Linked DNA regions of Homo sapiens: all the other regions are linked to region 1. The links are contacts of gene promoters, found by promoter capture Hi-C in blood cells and fetal thymus (Javierre and others, 2016). All regions are on one chromosome and are shown on one strand. The core of a region is centred on a gene start or on the middle of the fragment in contact, and the rest is flanking DNA. Distances in the headings are between cores, read along the strand shown.

What was found. Contacts are between HindIII fragments. The CHiCAGO score rates a contact against its expected background, and 5 or more counts as called.
Region 2: a contact is called between a fragment that was not itself captured here and the fragment with the promoter of CDK14 in region 1, in 2 of 17 cell types (total B cells and naive B cells). The highest score is 7.2, in total B cells.
Region 3: a contact is called between a fragment that was not itself captured here and the fragment with the promoter of CDK14 in region 1, in 4 of 17 cell types (M1 macrophages, M2 macrophages, monocytes and 1 more). The highest score is 10.6, in M1 macrophages.

The regions. Positions count from the first base shown.
Region 1 is chr7:90,594,529-90,599,152 of GRCh38, reverse strand. It overlaps CDK14 (cyclin dependent kinase 14), which reads right to left and starts at 2,832. Exons shown (of 15, transcript NM_001287135.2): 1 at 2,435-2,832. The coding sequence starts at 2,525. RefSeq lists silencers at 2,195-2,244, 2,305-2,504, 2,695-3,004, 3,025-3,224. The HindIII fragment of the contact is 4,165 bases long and covers 1-3,587 here.
Region 2 is chr7:90,747,414-90,752,037 of GRCh38, reverse strand. CDK14 (cyclin dependent kinase 14) reads right to left here. Exons shown (of 15, transcript NM_001287135.2): 4 at 4,263-4,357. Among named protein-coding and RNA genes, the nearest start is that of CDK14, 150 kb to the right of the region's middle. RefSeq lists an enhancer at 2,235-2,294. The HindIII fragment of the contact is 1,947 bases long and covers 1,601-3,547 here.
Region 3 is chr7:90,453,574-90,458,197 of GRCh38, reverse strand. No RefSeq gene overlaps it. Among named protein-coding and RNA genes, the nearest start is that of PTTG1IP2, 14 kb to the left of the region's middle. The HindIII fragment of the contact is 4,367 bases long and covers 611-4,624 here.

The DNA of each region.
Region 1 (4,624 bases), core at 1,583-4,082:
CTCAGAGAAGTTGAGAGACCTTGGCTGGGCATGGCAACATGGGAAACAGTCTGTGTGACACACAGCCCACATTCTTAACTCATGCACTATATAATCCCACAGTAAGCCCTCAACTCAACAACCTCTAGCGCCTTAAAAATCCTTAGATAGGCCGGGCGCGGTGGCTCTCGCCTGTAATCCCAGCACTTTGGGAGGCCGAGGCGGGCGGATCACGAGGTCAGGAGATCGAGACCATCCCGGCTAAAACGGTGAAACCCCGTCTCTACTAAAAATACAAAAAATTAGCCAGGCGTAGTGGCGGGCGCCTGTAGTCCCAGCTACTTGGGAGGCTGAGGCAGGAGAATGGCGTGAACCCGGGAGGCGGAGCTTGCAGTGAGCCGAGATCCCGCCACTGCACTCCAGCCTGGGCGACAGAGCGAGACTCCGTCTCAAAAAAAAAAAAAAAAAATCCTTAGATAATCAGAATGAGTTCACTGGTTTTAATTTTGCAAATACAATATAAAACATCAAGAAAATAAGAAGATACAGATTTTGTTTCTGTAATGCTACTTTGAATGTCGTTGGCTTGGTATACAACTATAATCACTTCAATATCTCCTATTACAATACTCCATAATGAGATCTACGATTCAGAATCATATTTTCCATCAATACAAGAAATAATCAGCTGTGCTCACTGCACTGCATTCTGTGTCCTAAAGGGAGGATATAAAATCCACCAGCTCTTAGAAGACATTTTAACAAGAGTTGGATTCAAAAGGAGTTTCACATCACTAAATCTCAGTAAGCTAGAAAATCCAATTAACTATAATACCCCCATTTGCCAGCACTGTACTTAATCCAAATTTTACTGATTGTCGATCAAAACCTTGAAATTATTTAAATATAAGGAACTTTTAGATTAATGTCCTTGGTTTCTTACTGAGACTCAATTGCAATGAATTATTTAACACAAAACTGGAGGGGCTCCAGCAGAATCATTAGCATTAGTAAATATATAGTTAATGTGTTTTAGAACACGGCTTAATGGACTCCAGAACCCGCCTCTGCGACGGTTTGGGTCAGGGTTGAAACATCCTCGTTAATAATGCACACGACTCAACATTTCCCTCTCTCACACTCTTCTTGGCTTCAAACTTCATCTTAATGCAGGGACTCTCCACATGTATCCCTAATTCTGAAGAGTGAAATTAATATCCAATACATGCAATAAATAAAACTAAAGATTGGTTTCATACCATAACTTTACAGTCATCTGGGGAAAGATTTTGCATACCAACACAAAATTTTAAGTCGAAAGACAAAAAAAAAAAAAAAAACTTGGCTAAATTTCGATCCATTGTACTCTCTCACTTGAAGAAAGTTTGCATATCTTACAATGAATGGGTGGAAGGATATCTGTAACACTCATGTGCATCCCAGGGTTTTATTTTAAGGAATTAAGTACCTTTATGTTTAATTTCCATTAACACTTTCGTTAACATGGATGACATTTAAAACAAGTGAAACAAAGACTAGGCAGCTTCCTAGGGACTCGCAGGGGTTATCTTTTGTGTCTATAGCATTCTCTTGCTCAGGGCAGTTACATGTTATTAGTGAAAGTTGTGACAGTAGGGGAGGCAGCTAACTCTTCAGGTTAAAAGGGGTTTTCTATGCCCAGTACTCAAAATCTAACAAACCCATTCCACGTGATACTGCTGTCACCCTATTACAACCTGTGACATGCATTTATTCGTCACTGTCCTAAACACTGTTGGTCAGTTGGTTTGTTGTTTGGTTTAAAGACAACAGCCCCTGAGCTCTATTAAATGGAACAAGTTCGAGAGACATTCCTAAATGTCCAGACAACTCCACAGCGCGCATTTCTCTCCAGCAGCGGGAAGATTCAGAGACCTCGAGACTGAACACCCAAATCTCGCTTTCCAGGACCCGAAGTACCGAACAATAGGTCCCAAGGTAACTGTCCCACTTCCCTTTAGGTTGGATACGTTAAACAATACCAGGGCACAGTCTAACGTTTCACCAATTTCCAAAGCTAAATTACTGACTAAACGCCCAATATCCAAGCCTGTGCGCAAAAAATAACAAGTGGCCCAAGCAGCCGCGCAGCCCCTTGCGCGGTGGGGGCCGAGGGGTCCCCTCGCCCGTCCCCCACGCGCGCGAAAGGGCGAGCACTAGTGGCGGAGGAGGGGAGAACCCATATTGTAGGCTTGAGAGAATCTACAAATGAACCCCCAGATCCTGAGGAAGAGGGGTCTCTTTCCTTTACGTCCTTGCCCTCCCCCGGGTCCCTAGCACTGTGCCCTCGATCCCCGCCTACAACGCACCCCACGCCAGCCCCGCTGGCAGCTGCATGGCTGGTGCCAGGAACGCGGCGGGGGCGCAGGCCGAGGGGAGCGGGCGCTGGGGGGGCCGGGGGCAGCGCGCTACTCACCAATGCGACTGAAACTCTCCGACAAAGTTCTCCGCAACTTCTTCATCTTGCCGATCTTCTCGGCCGGCTGCGGCTCAATGAGGTCACACATCTGGGCGACGCGGAGCCCCGACAACTTCCCCAAACTGGTCCAGGCACAGCTCAGACAACGGCGAGGGCGCGCGCCGCGGGGAAAGCGGCGCCTCCTCCTCCACCACCTCCTCGGCGGGCCGGGAAGCGACGCGCAGGTCTAGGGAGGCGAGCAGCAGGCAGGCGGAGGACGGCAGGCTCCGCTCCGGCCTGGGCCGCAGCTGGGCGGGCGGGGGCGGTTTACGTGGTGCCGGGGGCGGCCGCGCTCGCCGCCGCCGTGGTGGCCCCGCGCCGCGCCGCCGCCGCCCGGCTCATTTTCCCTCCTTTGTAACGGAGAGAAGCGCGGCCGGCAGGGGGAGTGGTGCGGCCGAAGGAGGAGGCGGGGCGGGCCGGGTACAAGGTGCGGGAGTCGCCTGGCGCCGAGTGCGCGGGGCGAGGGCGAGTGGGCCGGCGGGAGAAGTTCTCAGCCCAGAGTTGCGGGCGCAGCGCAGAAGGAGCCGCGGCGCGGAACCGCCAGCCTGACAGCTCCTGCTGCCCTCCTGCTGCCGCCGCCACGCCCCTCCCTCGACGAAGGCCCCTGGGCGCGGGATCCTAGCACGACCTCGGCTCCCCGCTCGCCTCCCGCGTCCTCCGCGGCCCTCTGTGTCTGGCTCGCGCCCCGGCGGCGCCCCCTCCCGGCCGCGCCCCTCCCGGCCGCCCCCGCGCTCCTCCCCCGCCCCGCCCGCGCGCGGGAGGATCACGAAGGGACCGGGGTGGGAGCGGGCAGCGTCTGGGGACAGCGTGTTGGGCTGTGGGGAGGTTACCGAAAGGAAACGGGCCGAGTCCAGTTGTTTGAGCGGTTTTCTCCTTCCACGAGCGTGTGTGAAAAAGCGCGGAGTTCGGTGGAGGGCAGCTGCCAGGACTGCCTCCTGGACTGGGTGCGGTAAGGCCTTAGGGATGCATTCAGATGTAGGGTGCCTTATTTTGGGCCGAGAAAGCTGTCAAGTGAAAGATCCAAGGGGAAAGGTGGGCCTGGATTTTTTTGTTGTTGTTTGCGGTGGGTTTTTTGTTTGTTTTGAGGTCAAGTGCAGAAGCAGCGGAAGCTTCAACTGTAACCCTCCAGAAGGCAGGGATCATGCTGTTTCCCTCATCCTTGTCTCTGATCTTGGTGACACATGTAGGTGATTTCTGATAGGAATACCCAGTTCTGCAGTAAATAGCAGACACAGCCCTTGGTCTTTTTCTATTAAATTCTTAGAATATATTTCTGAATTGGGAGATTTAAAGGCTAAACAGATTCCGACCTCCTTTTCCCCCACCTCAAAAACAGAACTTTAAAAAGGAGTGGGGGAGGTGTTTATAAAATCCCAGGACAAACAGTTCCAGCAGCGAACACACATCGTCTTCATTCTGAAAAAACCTGGTGCGGCGTGAGTTCCAAACGTCAGTCTCCCAGGGGAGAGAGAAGGAAGGTGGGGGAGGGCTTGATTGTGTTGATCTGAGGCCAGCAAACTCCTTATGAATAGAAACGTTAGTAATCTTGAGTCATTTGGCTGTGTAAGTAATAAGAGCTTGTGAGGGTGTGACAATGCTGTTTGGCTTGTAGGAAATTTTGGGGAGTTTATGTTTTGTTAAAAGATTTTTATCTTAAAAACTAGCCCCCTGCCTTCCTTAAATTGTGAGGTAAAACAGTGATTTGTTCCGCCCTACACTGAGCACATTGTAGGATCTTGATAGATTGCGGATGATAAAAGACAGGAAGTCAAGCTAAGTGGGGAGCAGAGGGGGGCAAGGAATTCGCCAGGAAAGACCATATGAGTTAAAACGCAAAGCTGTTGGATCCTGGCTGCCATGTCTAGATAATTACAGACAGCACCAAGGGTGGCCTCATACCGGAAAAAAGTTTGACTTTTACCACTTCCTCAGGTTAGTTAGGGAGAAAGTTTTCAGCAGTTATGAATGAAAAGACAAATGCAACCAATCAAAACACTAATGGGTTGTACGAGTCAACAAACACGAAGAAATATTAATTTAACGAACTTTCACTATTATACACCTGTGACTGTTATCCACTGTGACAATGGCTGTTTCAAATATATAATATGTTAAATATATGTTTATTTTACCTTCGCAGTATTTTTT
Region 2 (4,624 bases), core at 1,325-3,824, 150 kb before region 1:
AGTAATTGTTTCAGGAATCTGGTTGTTCCAATGTTGCATGCATATATATTTAGGATAGTTAAGTCTTCTTGTTGAATTGAACACTTTATCATTATGTAACGCCCTTCTTTCTCCTTTTTTATTGTTGTTGGCTTAAAGTCTGTTTTATCTGATATAAAAATAGTGACCCCTGCTCTTGTTTGTTTTCCATTTGAGTGATAGATCTTTCTCCAACCCTTTACTTTGAGCCTACTTGTGTAATCACATGTGAGATGGGTCTCCTGAAAACAGCAGAGAGATAGGTCTTGTTTTTCTTTCCTTAATCCAACTTACAATTCTATGCCCTTTAAAAGTGTGAGGTTTAGTCAGTTTATATTCAAAGTTAATATTGATATATAGCATTTTGAGCCTATCATGAAGTTGTTACTTGGTTGCATTATAGTTTCTATTGTATAGTGCCTTTACAGAATCTGTGGGCCATGTACTTATGTGTGTTTTTGTGGTAGTGGGTATTGTTCTTACATTTCCATGTTTAGAACACCCTTAAGGATCTCTTGTAAGGCTGATCTAGTGGTAAGAAATTCCCTCAGCACTTGCTTGTCTGGAAAACATTTTATTACTCCTTTGCGTATGAGGCTTATCTTGGTGGGATATGAAATTCTTGGCCGAGATTTATTTTAAGAATGGTGAAAACAGGCCCCCAAACTCTCCTGGCTTGTAAGGTTTCTTCTGAGAAATCTGCTGTTAGCTTAATGGTGTTCCCTTTATATGTGATCTTGCTTTTTTCTTTCTAACATTTTTTCTTTAGCATTGACCTTAGACATCCTGGTGAGTAAGTCTTGGTGGTGTTCATTTTATATAGTATCTCCCAGATGTTCTCCAGATTTTTTGAATCTGGATATTCACCTCTCTAGCAAGGTTAGGGGATTTTTCTGGGATTATTCCCTCAAATATGTTTTCCAGGTTGTTTACCTTTTCTCTGTCTCACTTAGGAATGCCAATAATTTGAAGGTTTGATCACTTTACATTATCCCATATTTCTCAAAGATTTTGTTCATTTAAAAAAATATTATTTTTGTCTGGGTTAAGAAGATTGGTCTTCAAGCTCTGAAATTATTTCTTCCACTTGGTCTAAGATATTGAAGCTTTCAACTGTTTTCTTCTTTTCTTTTTTTTTCTTTTTTTTTGGAGACAGTCTCGCTCTGTTGCCCAGGCTGGAGTGCAGTGGTGTGATCTCAGCTCACTGCAACCTCCGCCTCGCAGGTTCAAGCTATTCTCATGCCTCAGCCTCTGGAGTAGCTGAGATTACAGGCATGTGCCACCACACCTAGCTAATTTTTCTGTTTTTAGTAGAGATGGGGTTTCATCATATTGGCCAGGCTGGTTTCAAACTCCTGACCTCAGATGATCCGCTCGCCTTGGCCTCCCAAAGTGCTGGGATTACAAGTGTGAGCCACCACGTCCGGCCTCAATTGTATTGAAATTCCTTAAGTGAGCTTTTCAATTCTAGAAACGCTGACTGATTTCCTTTTAAGATGTTATATCTCCTTCTTCATTTCCTGGATTGATTTAGAAGTTTCTTTGTGTAGATTTTGAATCATGTCTTGGATCTCACTAAGCTTCCTTGTAATCCATGCTTTCAATTATTTATCTGTCATTTCTGAGTTTCCATTTTGGTCAGGAATTATTGCTGGAGAGTTAGTGTGATCCTTCAGCGGTGCCAAGACATTCAGATTTTTCACAATAACAAAATTCTTTTGCTGGTTCCTTCTCATCTGGAGATGTTGGCACTATAATTTTTGTAATTATTTTTGTACAGATTGCATTTTTTCTTTTTCTTTCTCTGTAATATTATTGGTGTGTGTGTGTGTGTGTGTGTGTGTGTGTGTGTGTGTGTGTGTGTGTTTTCTTTCCCCTTCCCTTCTCCCCACTCCCTCTGTGTTGCAACTGCAGAGAATGCTGGGTAGGATCTTTTGGCTTTGCTTCTATAGCCCTATGCATTTCTATCAGCAGCTTTTACATACGGCTGTTTGGTTTGACCTACAGCCAGTAGATGGCACTTATCAGTAAGAACCTACTGCAGCCAATGTGTCTGGATATATACTTGATCCTTATTTATGGGGAGATGCTCTCTGTTGCCTTAGGCAATGGGCTGATCTGTGGAGCCCATAGTGTTCTGAGTTCCCTTCTCAGTCCTGGGGGCATGAGGCAAGATGGTCATCCCCTGATAGCAGGCACAAGCACCAGCACTGATGGAGAATCCAGTAGAAAGCCACCAAGCACCCAGAGTGTGCCTAAACATGAAGCTGGGAAACATCCTTAGCCCCAAGTCTCTGCAGAGGAAGTGGAGGCAGCCTAAACTCCTAATCCAGGAGTGTAAGTGCTCCAGATCCCTGGAGATTTGCTGGGGCATGGAGGAGAGAGGAACCTGCTACACCAGAGTTTTTGTGTAGAAAGGGTGAGGCAGCTTAAGCTGCCATTCCAGGTGAACTGGTGCTCCAAATGCCTGGAGATCTGCCTGGGTGTGGAGCAGAGGCCTAGCTGCACCATGGTCTCTGCACAGGAAGAGTGAGTGACTCAGGATGCTGAACAAAGTGAGCAGGTGCTCTAACTGCCTGGAGATCTGCCTGGATGTAAAGCAGAAAGGGCCCCTCCTGCACCTGGATGTCTGCAAAGGAAGGGTGGGGCAACTGAGGTTGCCAATCCAGATGAGGTGAGCAGGTGCTTTGAATGCTTGGAGATCTGACTGGGCATGGAGTGAAGAAGGCTCTGCTATACCAGGATCTCTGGACAGAAGGGGTGGGGCAGCTCAAGATATAGAACGAGGCAAGCGGGTGCTCCAAAGGCCTGGAGATCTGCCCGGGTGTGGAATGAAGAGGGCTCCCTGCACCATTTTTACAAACTTTTTTTTACAACTCTCAAAATTAATACTATTACTTTTGACTTCACAGTATTTTTGCCTTACATATCTTTCTTGATAAGGAATATTTCATCTTCTAAACTTAAGAAACATGAACAAACAGATATAAGACCACACTCCTGAAAATCCTAAGATTACCTAAATTAGCACATAATCAAAATTTCCAACTATGTCTTTGGAATGATCCTTCAGAGAATTTTTCTCTTCTACATCTTCTTATTTAATTACTTAAGTTACAATATTCTAATCTGGCTGGGTGCAGTGGTTCATGCCTGTAATCCCAACACTTTGGGTGGCCGAGGCCAGAGGATCACTTAAGCCCAGGAGTTTAAAACCAGCCTGGGCAATACAGGAAAATTCCGTTTCTGCAAAAGAGTTTTTTAAAAAAAATAGCCAGACATGATGGCATGGGCTTGTAGTCCCAGTTACTCAGGAGGCTAAGGCAAGAGGACTGTTTGAGCCCAGGAGGTTGAGGCTGCAATGAGCCGTTATCAAGCCACTGTACTCCAGCCTGGGCAACAGGGCGAAATGCTGTCTCAGACAAAAAAGTCCTATCTTCTATAAAGATTTTGAAAAGAGATAACAGGGACAGTATAGAAAATTATTTTGCAACATCATTTGGTAAAGTTATAAAGGTAAAACAAAGCTTGTGACTTCTGTGGTTGTTGCAGAGATTGCATTAAGTTATCTACAACTACATGTCACTAAATACAGTAACTCTCTGTCCTTAATTAATAAGGGAGAGTAAGGAGGTCAATCAGAAACACATGAGGACAAGCTTTTCAAGAATCCAAATCTGTGCCCTGACCCCCAGAGAGCAATGGAGAGAAAGAAGAAAAGGAGGAGACAGTTGTTTCTCGATATGAAAATATATGCAGCATGATGCCAAAGCAGACAGGAAGAAAGAAAAAGAAAAGTTTGCCATTTTGTTTAACTAAGAGACTTCTGAAAGATGGAGTAAAAGCTTAACTTAAAAAGACCCCAAGAATGGCCAATATATTTGGCATTGTCAAATCAATACTCCTATTCCCAACACTAAATCTCTATGAGAAATTAATCACATAATTCACCTGGAAATGAATTCTCATTAGACGGTTCCAACTCCTTTGAAAGAGAAAGCAGTGTTGTGGGGAGGCGCATTAAACAGAAAAATAAATTGAACAGTCTGAAAAACTGTTTACTAGCAGGGTACACCAATTCCAATGAGTTTTACACACTTGCCAAAAAAAAAAAAAAAAAAGGATACCGTGAGGGAGGAAAATCTATTGTATATTAAATAATAATTATTTAAATAAAATGCTATTTAGTAATAAGAGGGCAGATACACTGTACATGTGAAATATTCCAAAAATAATGAACTTACTTGCTTTTCCCTTTGTATACTGTAGCATAAGATCCTTCCCCTAGTTTTTCCAGCTTTTCATATGAGTCAGCTTTTCCAAATTTGGGACTTGTTGGCTAAAAATGAAGCACAGGGTAAACAAAACAGATTGTATCAAATTAATTAACAACAAATACCCTGATTTTGCTAAAAATGTACAGATTCTCTGTCACTTTTTAAATAACTGTTTTTTCTGGCATACATGTTTATTTTTCAAAACAACATAATAAACAGGATACAAAACTAAAAAAAAATGCAAATAAACACAATGTAGAACGAAATTATTCCCATAAGCTAACCAGGAAACCACTGTTAATATTTTGATAGCTGTTCTTCCAGTGCTA
Region 3 (4,624 bases), core at 1,545-4,044, 140 kb after region 1:
AGTTCACCATGCTCTCTTAAATTTCCTCCTACTTCTCTGGTTGCTCCTACTCAGTCTTGTTTTTTGGATGCTCCTTTTCTCCAAGAACTGTTACTATTGGCGTGACCCCGACTGAATCCTTGATTTTCTTTTCTAAGTACATTCATTATCTTGGTAATCTCAATTAATAGCATGGCTGTAAATACCATCCACGTGCTGCTCACTCCCAAATTTATATTTTTAGCTTGAACCTCACTCCTAATATCCAGTCAAACATATCAGAATGCCTATTCAACATATGCAAATAGATGGCAACAAACATCTCAATACTTTTGAAAGTTATGATCTTTTCTTTAATCCATTTTCTTATCCTTCTTGTTTCCCAGTTTAAAACTCTTGAAGTCATCCTTGATTCCTTTAATTCTCTGAAACTCCACATATAGTTCATTAGTAAATCACCTCTACCTTCGAATTAGCAAACTTCTACCTCCTCTTCTGTTACTGCAATTGTGCCCCAACTGGTCTCCTTGCTCCCACCCTTGCCCTTCCTTCTTCTCACTGCTTATTGGTAATACAGCAGCCAGTAATTATTTTAAAATGAAAGACCTGGTAACACCTCTATTTGGAAGCTTCCATTTCACTCAGAGTAATACCCAAACTCCTTACAAAAGACTTAGCCTGAGTGACCTGACACCTCCTCCACCTTGTGCCTCTGTCATCATCTACTATTACTCTCCTCTTCTTTCATTAGGCTACAGCCTTGCTGGAATCTTTGCTGTCTCTCTGATACACCAGGCATGCTGTCACCCTAGGGCCTTTACAGTGTTTATTCCCTCTCCTGGACCACACTTTTTTCAGACAGCCCCTCGGCTACCTCTTTTACCTTCAAGTCTTTGTTCAAATGCCATCTTCTCAATGAGACCTAATCTGAATGACGTTAGAGAATATTGCAACCTGTACCTCCTCACACCAGCATCTCCAATTCCCTTGGCATGCTCTGTTGCCCTAAGGCATTGAATTGTCTCCTAAAATACTGTATAACATACTCATTATGTTATTGCTTTTTGTTTTTTTCTTTCTCCTGTCCAGTAGAATTTCAGCTCCATGAGATAGGGGTTTTTGCCTCTTTTGTTCACTGAGGTAACCTAAGCATTAGACAGTGCCTAGCACACAGTAGGTGCTCAATACATATGTTTTAGGTCAGGCACTGTGGCTCATGCCTGTAATCCCAGCACTTTGGGAGACTGAGGCAGGCGGGTCGCTTGAGTCCAGGAGTTCGAGACCAGCCTGGGCAACATGGCAAAACCCTGTCTCTACAAAAAATACATAAAAATTAGCCAGGCGTGGTGGTGGGTACCCATAGTCCCAACTGCTTGGGGGGCTGAGGAGGGAGGATTGCTTGAGCCCGGGAGGCCGAGGTTGCAGTGAGCCGAGATCACAATGCTGCACTCCAGCCTGGGTGACAGAGTGGGACCCTGTCTCAGAAAAACTAAAACTAAAACCCAACCATATGTGTCAATTGAATTTTTATCCCCAAATCATTTATCACCTTAATTCTGGTCTAATATTCCAAGTTCTTTCAGAAGTCTCTACTTGAATGTCCTTAAGACAACTCAAACTCAGTATGCCCCAAGTCAGACTCATTTTCCCCATCAAATTCGTTCTTTCCCCTGTTTTCCTAATTGGATTCATAGCATCGATAACCATCCAGTCAGCTATGGGAGACGCCACCAGGGTCATTCCGCATTTTCAGTTTTGGAACAAGTTCCTAGCCCTCTCCTAATGCTAATAAGCATTTGATATTAATACTGAGCCTTTAGCCACACATGCAAATACTATGTTTTTCATTGCTTTAGTCACTTAGTCTCTTGGGGATTACTGTCCACGGGTTTGTGTATTGGTCTGCTAGGGGTGCTATAACAAAATCCCACAGATTGGGTGGCTTTAACAACAGAAATTTATTTTTCACAAATTTACTTCTCTGGAGGCTAAAAGTCCAAGATCAAATTGCTGGCAGGGTTGGTTTCTCCTGAGGTTTCTCTCCTTGGCTCACAGAGGGCCACCTTTTTGCTGTGTCCTCACGTGGTCTTTCTTCTGTGCACATATACTCCCGTTGTCTTTTCCTCTTCCCATAAGGACACCAGTTCTATTGGGTTAGGGCCCCATTCTTGTGACTTCATTTAACCTTAATTAACTCCTCAAAGCCCTATCTCCAAATATAGCCACATTAGGGATTAGTCCATCAATAAATGAATTTTGAGAGGACAAAATTCAGTCCATAACAATTAGACACAATGCTTTTCTGTCCCTTTAAAATTATTCCTGTTTTCAAAAGTTCATTCTTTGTGCATATGCAAACTTTGTTCTTTTCTTTCTATTTTCCATCTGTTTTGAATAATCTCTATTCTTGGCTTTATCATAAACAAATGTATGCCTGCTAAAATAGCTTTTCCCAATACTCTTACTGTTTTGCATTTATCAGGTGTGGATGGAGTTAATATTTGTAAAACATTTTCTAAAAATAGAGAAAAGCAGCTAACAGAGTCAAGAACGGAACACTTCATGGCCCCAAATAACCAACTATGACTACTAATGCCATCTGTTGGCAGCAACAGAAATTGCATGTTTTTTATCTGGATAGTAGCTTTGTTCAGATCTATCACGATCTACGTGCTGAAAATTTGAAGGTAAAGAAATCCCTGTATTCTCTTCCTTTACCTTCCATATTCCTGTCTGTGACAGTAAGCAGCCCAGCAGGAAGGTTAATTGAAGAGAATTCAATGAAGGGACTAAATACAGAGGTGTGTCAAGAGTAACAATAACCAAGGACGGTGAAGCACCCAGTGACTAACAACGAAGAGAAGCTATTACCATCCCTGCAACTGAAGAGACAGAGCAGGGAATGGAAGGGCTGAAATCAGAGAGAACTGAAGGATTGCCCAAAAGAAGCTGTGGTCATAAGGTAAAGGAAACATAGTTTGGCTGAGCGAGTAGGGGGAATAAATACCCAAATCTTTCTCTTCTCCTACTATCTATTCTCCCAAAGTCAGAGGAGCAAAGAAACTCAGATAATGCAATCTGTAGGTCGACGTAGGGCAGAGAAGGATGGAGAATGAATTTGGAGGGTTAGCCAGTGTCTTGATCTGTTTTGTACTGCTATAGTGAAATACCTGAGGCTAGGTAATTTATAATGAACAGAAATTTATTTGGCTCACAGTTCTGGGGGCTAGAAAGTCCAAGGTTAAGGGCCTTCTTGCTGCATCGTCCCGTGGTAGAAGGCAGAAGGGGAAGAAAGCACACATGTGAGAGAAGAAAGGGAGCCAAACTCCTTTTTATTAGGAACCTACTCCCATGATAACTAACCGACTCCCTAGATAATGGCATTAATCCATTCATAAGGGCAGACCCCTCATGACCTAATCACCTCTTAAAGGTCCCACCTCTCAACATTGTTGCATTGGGAATTAAATTTCCAACACATAACTTTGGGGGACATGACGAAATCATAGCAGCTAGTGAATAGTTAGCATAACTTCCCTTCACAAAATGAATTGTCCTCTCTTCTATTTTATGTACAGATTGAGTTCTTAAATGTCTCATCCATGGTTGTAAGTATTCCAACACAAAAAAATGTACTTAAGAGGAACTAATAAATACATATTTTTGAATAAATAAATGAATACTCATTATTTATCTCCATGACTTAAAATTTTGCTGGAGGAAAAAATGGCAACTGTACTCTATTTTATGTTATGCCTTATGCCCAATGAATTCCATCGAAATTCAATACATTAAATTCCAATCCTGAATACAATAAATACAACAATAAAGCAAACAAGATCATTTTTCCTGATTCCTGGCTATATGTTTATATGAGAAACAAATTTAAATAATAAGAGAAAAATCCCCACAGTTTGCCTTTTAAAAATAAAATTTGAAGTATATTTTAAGAATAATAATAGCTCACTTATCTTTTCTTTCAGCGTTAAAAGTTCTTACAAAGGCTTTAAATGAAAGTGAAGAGTTATGTTTATCTTCAAAAGTAGTACTAAAGTCAACACTGAAAGCCCTTGAATGTAGTCCAACAGTTGAACTTTAATAAACAAACAGCCTGTTGAAGGCAGGCAGATTAAAAGTCTCCAGTATACTACAGTTTAATTAGCAAGTACTGTTACAGCCAGGGTCTATACCTCCTTCCCCCAGACACAGAGAAATTATGTTTATGATGACTGGTGTTCCTTTGTTCTGACCATTATAACTGTCAATCACTAAACTGTGGAAGTTGTCTGATATGACATTTAAGACAAACATACAAGTATACTCATCAACTGCAGTCTAATTACTACAGTTGGCTTAATGACAGGGTTGCATCAATTTTTTAGTAGTACTATCAGTCTTGAAATCCTAAAGCAGATAGTCTAGCAGATCTCCAAATGTCATATTCTCTTGTATATTTCCAACTTGGGGAAAGAGAGCATGATGACTCAAGATTGTTTCCTTGGTATTTTGTTGTTATGGAAAAAGGAGCATTTATAATCTATTAGACATTTTTGAGGGCACAAATAACATGAAAATGATATTTCAGTGAAAAATGTACATTTTGCTTGGTTATTATTGCTAAGTGCATTGTTCAGCAAATGTTCTG